Regions from separate parts of the Homo sapiens genome. Here region 1 is linked to region 2. The links are contacts of gene promoters, found by promoter capture Hi-C in blood cells and fetal thymus (Javierre and others, 2016). All regions are on one chromosome and are shown on one strand. The core of a region is centred on a gene start or on the middle of the fragment in contact, and the rest is flanking DNA. Distances in the headings are between cores, read along the strand shown. Region 1 overlaps LOC105375683 (a long non-coding RNA gene). Region 2 holds the start of ODF1 (outer dense fiber of sperm tails 1).

Region 1 (4,423 bases), core at 635-3,134, 96 kb after region 2:
TTTAATAAGTGTGTGATCTTTTAAAAAAAAAAGACAAATATGTTCATTACCATAGAATTGACTTTAAGTCTTGCTTTGATGGAAATGAGTGTTGAAACCCTGCCTCATAAAGGTTTGTGTTAGTAAATGGAATCTGTGGTCCGGTGACCAGTTGAGGATGGGCTCGGATCAAGAACACCAGGATCGGTTGGGCATGGTGGCTCACGCCTGTAATCCCAGCACTTTGAGAGGCCGAGGCAAGCAGATCACCTGAGGTCAGAAGTTCAAGACCAGCCTGGCCAACATGGCGAAAACCCATCTCTACTAAAAAATACAAAATTTAGCAGGGCGTGGTGATGGGCACCTGTAATCCCGGATACTCAGGAGGCTGAAGTGGGAGAATTGCTTGAACCTGGGAGGTGGAGGTTGCAGTAAGCCGAGATGGCACCACGCACTCCAACCTGGGTGACACAGAGCGAGACTCCATCTCAAAAAAAAAAAAAAAAAAATTAGAACACCAGGATCCTCTACAACTCTTTGAGTTCAATTCCTGTTATTTCATTTCCTTTGTTCTCAAGTCAATGAAGTCATTTTTGGCAGTACTGGCCTTGTTACTGCTGTCTTTGTCAACAGGGAAGGGATTAGGGATTCACTTTCCACTTGAAGACTGTTGAAACAGAAGTAACACTCCAAAGTATTCTGAGGGTTTTCCGGTTACCACAGTTTCCTGACTGCAGAGAAATCGAGAAAGTGTCTTTGTCACACTCAATTCCAGCCTGCAGAAGAATCTGCTTCAGTGATGAAAAGTCTGAAGCTTTGTCCTTCCAAGTTATTCTTCCAAGTATATAGGCTTAGCCAAAAGAGCTTGTAGTTCTGTTTTTGTTTTTGTTTCTGCACCAGAAATATGTTTGTGATTCCAGGACCTGAACTGGAAGATTTTCTTCTTTCAGTACAACCAAACTATCTGCCTAACAAACCAAGCAGTAAGTGAATTCCTCCCAGTAGAATTGTTTGGAAAACTGGCATTTCTTTTTTTTTCTTAAGTACACACACGAGCTTCTCTTCAAGTTCAATAAGGACTTCATCACCCTGTCTTACTCTAGTTGATGATATTGTGCTACTATTATTTGACAAACCCTCTTGAAAAGATGGTGATTCGAGGATCTGGCTTGCAGGAAGTTGAAGATATCCACAGCAGTAGACAATGTGGTTGAGGCTGTTGACAGGGTCTTTGACACCAATGCATGCCGGCCAACATGCAGAGCTGCTTTCCTCTAAAAGGCAGTGTGGGGTTGGGCACAGTGGCTCACACCTGTAATCCCAGCACTTTGAAAGGCTGAGGCAGGTGGATCACTTGAGGCCAGTAGTTCAAGACCAGCCTGGCCAACATGGTGAAACTCTGTCTCTAATAAAAATACAAAAAAAAATTAGCCGGGCATGGTGGCACATGCCTGTAATCCCAGCTACTCGGGAGGCTGAGGCAGGAGAATCACTTGAACCTGTGAGGCAGAGGTTGCAGTGAGCTGAGATCACGCCACTACACTCCAGCCTGGGTGACGGAGCTAGGCTTTGTCTCAAAAAATAAATAAATAAAATAAAAATAAAAAAATAAAAGGCAGTATGACTGGATGGGCTGCCACACCTCAAAGGGGTCCCTCCTAGGACCCGAGCCGGAGTTTTCTTTCCATCAATGTGTACTTGGCAAAGGCTTTTCACAGTTTTGAAGAGGTTAGTAGAATCTATATTTTCCAAAATGGTCTCACGAAATATGGTTTTTGTTTTCATTTTTGTTTTTATTTAGAGGGCATTGGTCAGTATGCAAATAATGCACAAGACCCAGAAAGCCACAAACAAATGTTTGTAGTTTTGTTCTTTTCCGTGCTGCAGAGAAAGAGTATCACTTTCAATTATTCAAAGATCTGCTTTAAAACATAAGAGATATTATACATATAAAGTATAAGAAAGGAATATTACACATTTTGGAGTGGGTGACACCAATGGAAATATTCTGCCGCCTCAGCTTCAAGCCCTCAAAGAGACCAATTTCAAGACATGTGCCTTCACCAACATCTCTCCAATCACACAGATATTGTTTGGCTTGGTAATGGGATAAGACATCTTATAAGATGTGGCCGGGCACGGTGGCTCATGCCTGTAATCCCAGCACTTTGGGAGGCCGAGGTGGGTGGATCACCTGAGGTCAGGAGTTTGAGACTAGCCTGGCCAACATGGCAAAATCTGGCCTCTACTAAAAATACAAAATTAGTGGGGCGTGGTGGCGTGTGCCTGTAATCCCAGCTGCTCAGGAGGCTGAGGCAGGAGAATTGCTTGAACCCCGGAGGTGGAGGTTGCACTGAGCCGAGATCATGCTATTGCACTCCAGCCTGAGTGACAAGAGCAAAACTCTTCTCAAAAAAAAAAAAAAAAAAAAAAAAAAAACTTATAAGATGCTTCCAAATAAGGTTCTTGATTTGGGGATGAATCCATTTGACAAGATTCTAGTCTTCCCCAGACAGGATCCTTCTCATGAATCCACACTGTCTGAGATATATTTCAGGATATGGAGATGTCAGCTGTTTTTTCAGCTTTGTTGGAGTCAGGTTCTCATTGGCACAATCTTCCCTCATTAGAAGCACCGAGAGCTGGTATCCAATTGCATTAGCAATGAAAGATCACAGGGCATTAAAATTTAGTCATAGTGTACTTTCTTTTTTTTTCAACATTTTTAAAATTAAGCTAGACCCAACAAAAGCAAAGGCAGACATTTTTATTCAAAATAATAGAGTATACTTTATTTCATTTTCATCAATGGTAAACTATTTTAGAAATCTTTAAGTAGCAACAGTAACAATTGTGTATTATCAAACCACATACTTACTTTTCATGTGATAAAGACAGTTTAAGCAAGCAGAAAGTAAAATTTGAAAATCTATTCCAGCAAACTGCTCAATTCACTAGTTACCTGTGTGATTAAAGAGCTGATTGCAAAAGCTTGGGAGTCTTTGAATAATCTCTAGAAGTTCTCCACAGTAGTGAACTATATAATGAACTATGATGACCAATTCTATAGGTTTAGAAAGAATTACACATCTTCTAGCATGTTACACTTTCAACTACATTTATAAACCTATTCTATTCTGTTCTATTATTCTATTCTATTCTATTCTATTCTATTCTATTCTATTCTATTCTATTCTATTCTATTCTATTCTATTCTATTTTTTGAGACAGAGTCTTGCTCTGCTGCCCAGTCTGGAGTGCAGTGGTGCGATCTCAGCTGACTGCAACCTCCACCTTCCAGGCTCAAGCTATCCTGCCTCAGCCTCTTGAGTATCTGGGACTACAGGTGTGCACCACCACCCCAGCTAATTATTTTTAAGGTTTTGTAGAGATGGGGTTTCACCAAATTGCCCAGGCTTATAAACTATTTTATACTGTCAGTATCTTCACAGGTACAGGAGAAGTAGAATATAAAAAATTGAAACTAGAAAATTGTAATGTTCTTTCATTTCCTTCTAGACCTCATATGACTAATTTAGAGGATGAGTGTGACAAGACCACATAGAATAACAGTCTTGACTTTTCTTACATACACTTGACTACAACACTCTGTTAACTTTTCACTCATGTTAGCAGCAGTATCTTGGGCATAATTTTGTGCCTTATTCATATTGACTCTGATTTCCAGCAAATAATTATATAACCCTGGAGAGCTAGTCTTGGCCATGTCTTCATCATCAATAAGACGCTCTCTTTTTTTTTTTTTCCCTTTTTTTTTTTTTTGAGACAGAGTCTCACTCTGTCCCCCAGGCTGGAACGCAGTGGCATGATATTGGCTCACTGAAACCTCTGCCTCCCACATTCAAGCGATTCTCCTGCCTCAGCCTCCCAAGTAGCTGGGATTACAGGCACACGCCACAACGCCCGTCTAATTTTTGTATTTTTAGTAGAGACAGGGTTTCACCATGTTGGTCAGGCTGGTCTCGAACTTCTAACTTCAAGTGATCTGCCCACCTTGGCCTCCTGAAGTGCTGGGATTTCAGGTGTGAGCCACTATGCCTGGCAAAAGACTACTTTCAAAGAGTGTCTTGGCCAGGTGTGGTGGCTCATGCCTGTAATCCCAGGACTTCGGGAGACCGAGGTGGGTGGATAGCTTGAGCCCAGGAATTCAAGACTAGCCTGGGCAACATGATAAAACCCGGTCTCTACTAAAAATACAAAAATTAACCACGTGTGTTGGTACATACCTGTGGTCCCAGCTATTCAGGAGGCTAAGGCAGAACAACCCCTTAAGCCCAGGAGGTCAAGGCTGCAGTGAGCTGAGATCACACCACTGCACTCCAGCCTAGGCAACAGAGCAATACCCTGTCTAAAAAAAACAAAACAAACAAACAAACAAAAAAAAGTAGACTTTGAGAAAAGGAAATCAGTTTATTGGAGAGAT
Region 2 (4,741 bases), core at 1,685-4,184:
GAGACACAGCAGATTGACTGTGACACAGAAAAACAGTTTCAAGGGGGCCAAGGCAACTATAGACTATAGAGTCTTTACTTCATATTGGGCAAAGAACCTTCTGGACAACACAGCCTGCCATCTGAAAGGATATGTCATAACTAACCAACCCCCTTGCATTCTTTAAAGGGGAGGAAGGTCATGTGAATATGAATTCTAAACTCAAAAAGCCTTGGGCAAGCTTTCACACCAAAGATTGTTTTAAAAAATTGAATCAACATGATATTTCTGCATCTATTTAGTTATGGATCAGGCGCTAGCTTAGAGATAAGAATAAAAGGCACTGCACTAGAAGAAAAAATACTACACTGGGGGCCTTCTGGGACTGAGGCTAGAATCAGGGTTTAACATTTTCACCCATATTCAGGAAAATTGAATATTTAGGTTTGCAAGTGACACTAAGCCCTTCTGGAGAGTGAAATGTCAAGTTGTCAGAAATAGAGCATAGAAATTTCACAAGGTGGTGTGAATTGGAAGAGATAAAGCGGACAAGCCTGAGGTCATTTCTACAATGGACTTGGAGTTATCATTTCCGAGATCCAGAAATTAATGTAAAGACATCACCAGCTTCACATATTGCCTGCAGGCAGAGAAAAAATAGGCAAAGACCCAGACGCTGTCAGGAAGAGCATCACAAACCAGAGAAAACATTACCTCTTGCCTAAACTACACTGCCGAGAATTAAGCTTGAAGCTGTTTCTACTGCATGCCAAGAAACAAGGCTTCTGAAAGAGGCATCAAGAGAGTAGACAGCACAGGACAGAGAGGGATTTTAATTGGTAGAGTCTGGGGATAGGAGAGAAGCCAGGAAGACAGAGGCTGGAAAGACCTGGACAAGGGTATTCAAGTATCCAAAAGTAGGAGGAGAGTGGATACTGATCTGCTCACAAGGAAACCTTAACTTGGACCAAATATTTTAAAAAGAGTCCCTGCCTCACAGTGTGAGCAATTTATGTGACTTGATGCCCTAAGAAATAAAAACAAACATTGGTTCAAAGAGTATAGATGAATTTACAGGTGAAAGCTCCCAGGCTATGAGGGAGGTTCATTCCTGACCATTGGTGGCTGGTGACCTAGACAATAATTATCCTTTTTTTTTTTTTTTTTTTGAGACAGTCTCACTTTGTCACCCGGTCTGGAGTGTAGTGGTGCAATCTTGGCTCACTGCAACCTCTGCCTCCTGGGTTCAAGTGATTCTCCTGCCTCAGTCTCACGAGTAGCTGGGATTACAGGCACGTGCCACTACGCTTGGCTAATTTTTTTTTTTTTTTTTTTTTGTATTTAGTAGAGATGGGGTTTCACCATGTTAGCCAGGCTGGTCTCGAACTCTTGAGCTCAGGTGATCTGCCCGCCTCCGCCTCCCAAAGTGCTGGGATTACTGGCATGAGCCAATGCACCCGGCCTCCTATTGCTTTTTCCAAAGAAACATCACTGTCACTGTTGTCAAGAGACTCTATCTATCTATCATCTATCTATCTATCTATCTATCTATCTATCTATCTATCTGTCATCTGTCTATCAGTTTTTCTGCACTTTGCTTGTTTGACTTAATACATCAATATGTAAGATGCTTCATCAATCCTTTCTATATTTACTTATTATTCCAGTGCATGAATGTATTATTTATTTAACCAGGGACAGCACTTTCAACCATCTTTTTCATCAACAGTAACAGACTAAATGGCATATGTAAAAAGTTAGAAAAGGAAAGTTTTCTCCAGGCAAAAAGAAAATATAATCTAAAACAAAAATTTTTTTAAAAAACTGACTCTTTTTAATTACCCAATTCAATTAAAAAGCCTTTCAAGTCTATCCTGAAAGCTACAACTCAGTGCCATAGTTTATTTGCAAGACCTTTGCTAGAGTTAGAGGGGAGGCCAACATGATAGACCTAATTCCAGATACAAGGTAAGTCTTTGCCTGGAGTGGGGGGATAGGAGAATGATATTCCCACAAAACCAAGGCAATGCCTCTACTGTTCAATTTGCTCTCCTGCTTGTAAAGCCTCTGGCACACATTAAGGATTTGATCTATTATTATTACTTCTCCTGTAGTCATTTCTGTAAGTCCAAATATACTCAAATCACTTTACTCATAACCAGGAAAAATGTTTAGTTTGCTGCTTCCAATGGCTTTTTAATGACACCCCCTGTTTCTTCCCTTCATTAAAGCCGCATTATTTATCATACTGGCATTCTTGCTATAAACCACCGACGACCTTGCCAATCGACATCATTACATTGTCTTTTGAGAACCCTACAATTCCCATCATGGACTCATTTACTCTTCTTTCCTTAAATCTTTCCTAAGTCACCAGGGTCATTATCCTGAACCCTTTTAATCTTTGTTCAACTATTGATTGTCACATATTTTTCCTTATTCCAACTTATAAGGCTAATATACCGACTATAAAAATTTAAAAATAAGTTATTTTACTTGGCAAGCTCTCGCTTCTCATCTTCTATGGCTCTGATGGCTTTCCTCTCCAAACTTCTGAGAGATGGTCGCAGACAGTAAAGCTTATAATCACACAGGCAACATGGGTAGAGATCACACAGGCCGCAAGAGCGTGATCGCTTGGAATAGCACAAGCAGTACGGATATGGGTGCAAGTCACAGCAGCAATAGGGGTGCATATACAAGTCGCACAGGCACCGTGTGCTAAATTCGTCGATGCATCTCAGTTGCCTTAGTTCTCTGTCCACCTTCTTTATGTCCCTTCTGACACTGTCCAAGAGACAACTCAGTGCAGCCATTATGGTCACACCTGATTGTTCTGTGAGTACCTTTGGGAAATGGCACTCCGGGAAAAAATTTGTTCTAAGCCCTTCTCAGAAGTTGCTTTTAAAAATAAATGAGGCACACATGATTCACTTACTTTAAAGCTTGTGTTCTATGACCTCACCACCTTCTGAAGTATGTCATAGTCTTCTGGTTACCATGTGAACTGTACACAGTCATGGTCTCCAGAGACCATCCTCAGAGTTACAGAGCTACTCTCAGAACCATACTCGTGTTGAGATTTCACTCACCTTCAAGGAGGATGGGTCTCCCAAGCGAGCATAGCTCATCGGGGTGCATGGGGCTGGCCACTAACATCCTTGCCTTGTGTGTGCTCTGGGGACCAGCCATGGCTATGACTGTGTGTTTGTTGAACTTGGTGCAGGCGAAGGCAGGAGCTGCCCACGCCTTTCTCCATGACCTTCTAGCTCTAGCCTTGATTGGAAGCTTGGCCTTGCTCCTTTTGTTCTAGAATTCATTCTGTCTCCAGACAGGTAGAATATAAAGAATGTTCTCATCATTCTCCTCCTACCAAGTCATCCTCAAGTCAGCCATTGTCCTTGACCTTCTGAGTTACAAGTCTCTGAGTCCTGCCCATTCTGCGCCAGCTGTGGTCATGGCTGTTCGGGAACCTCATTTCTCTACTGGTTGGGGGTCCTGTCCTTAAGCTCCCATCTGTCAGTCCTCGGGGGCCTGTCCTGGGGAACTACCTCCCATCAACTACACCTTTGGTCTTGCATCCAAGCCTCCGGATGTCTTGTCCCTGAGTGCTTCCCAAATGTTGGTCTTTGATGTTCTTGTAGCCAACCGCCTGAAGATGCTGGAAGCCAACTGCCTGAAACCCCCGCTTCGGCCAGTTTCCTTTACTTTCTGTTCAGTTAACATCCTAGACCTCTGATTCGGCCTCAGATTTGGCTCTCGGTGCCTCTACTCCTCTGGTCCTTTCACCTCAAACTGCGGTCCAGCTCTCGAGTCTCCCTTGTATGAACTAGAGCTCAGGTATTGATGACAAGTGGTTGGATGTGACACTGGTGAGGGAGACAAGGGCCAGGTTTGAAGGGACCTGTAGCCAGACTAAGGACTCTGAACTTTATTTTGAGCCCAACGAAGGATTGTTGATTTTCTTTTCTTTTGTCAGAAGTGAGACAGCCACACTGAAGGTAAGTTGCTAGGGACAATAGTAGTGGGGTTTTCTGCTGCAAGACAAGAAGAGACAACAAAAATCTGGACTGGGGATCATGGCTATGGGGATGGCAAGGAGGAAGCCAATGGGAAAGCCTTCCCCCACCTCTGCCCAGGCCCCATCTAATCCATTTTCCACATTGTAGCCACAGCGACTTTCATATAGAAATCTGTCATTCCTCAACCTTCCCCACCCATCATCCCACTCACCTTAAAAGTCTTCTCTGTCCTCTCAAAAAAAGGACCAAAATCTTTACCAGGTGCTGAGCAATGGGGCCTCTCCCACTTCCCCACTCTCCTCTCCCATCCTAGTATTATTGCAATTCATTACCCCTCAGCCACGATGGCCTTCCTGGAAGACCACTCACTTTCCAGAGGCCGTTCCTTAGTCCCTTGAAGGACATTCCTCATTCCTTCCACCTCATTCAGAGCTCATACACAGGACGTTCTGCCTGCTTAGAAATTGAACTCCCCACCTATGACTTTCATCCATTTAATTCTTAAGGCACCCTTTAGATCTCCCCCTTTCTTGGGGAAGCCTTCTCTGTCTCCCAGACTAAACACTCTCTTAACTTAGGATACATTTCCTTCATGATATTGTTTCCCCAGCTGGACTGTAAGCCACGAGGGCAAGGACCTTGTCTATTTTTGCTTCGCAGTAGATACCTAACACAATGCCTGGCACATAGCAGGTGCTTGAAATGTACTCACTGAATGACCATCTGGGTGAATTCAACAG

Evidence for each region. Contacts are between HindIII fragments. The CHiCAGO score rates a contact against its expected background, and 5 or more counts as called.
Region 1: a contact is called between a fragment that was not itself captured here and the fragment with the promoter of ODF1 in region 2, in 1 of 17 cell types (M1 macrophages). The highest score is 5.3, in M1 macrophages.

Annotation. Positions count from the first base shown.
Region 1 is chr8:102,453,360-102,457,782 of GRCh38, reverse strand. All of the region lies in intron 2 of LOC105375683 (a long non-coding RNA gene), which reads right to left. Among named protein-coding and RNA genes, the nearest start is that of UBR5, 43 kb to the right of the region's middle. The HindIII fragment of the contact is 2,177 bases long and covers 796-2,972 here.
Region 2 is chr8:102,549,782-102,554,522 of GRCh38, reverse strand. It overlaps ODF1 (outer dense fiber of sperm tails 1), which reads right to left and starts at 2,934. Exons shown (of 2, transcript NM_024410.4): 1 at 2,476-2,934. The coding sequence starts at 2,795. It overlaps LOC124901998 (a long non-coding RNA gene), which reads right to left. Exons shown (of 3, transcript XR_007061039.1): 2 at 4,714-4,741; 3 at 3,927-4,016. It overlaps LOC105375684 (a long non-coding RNA gene), which reads left to right and starts at 3,895. Exons shown (of 2, transcript XR_928478.3): 1 at 3,895-3,980. The HindIII fragment of the contact is 343 bases long and covers 2,927-3,269 here.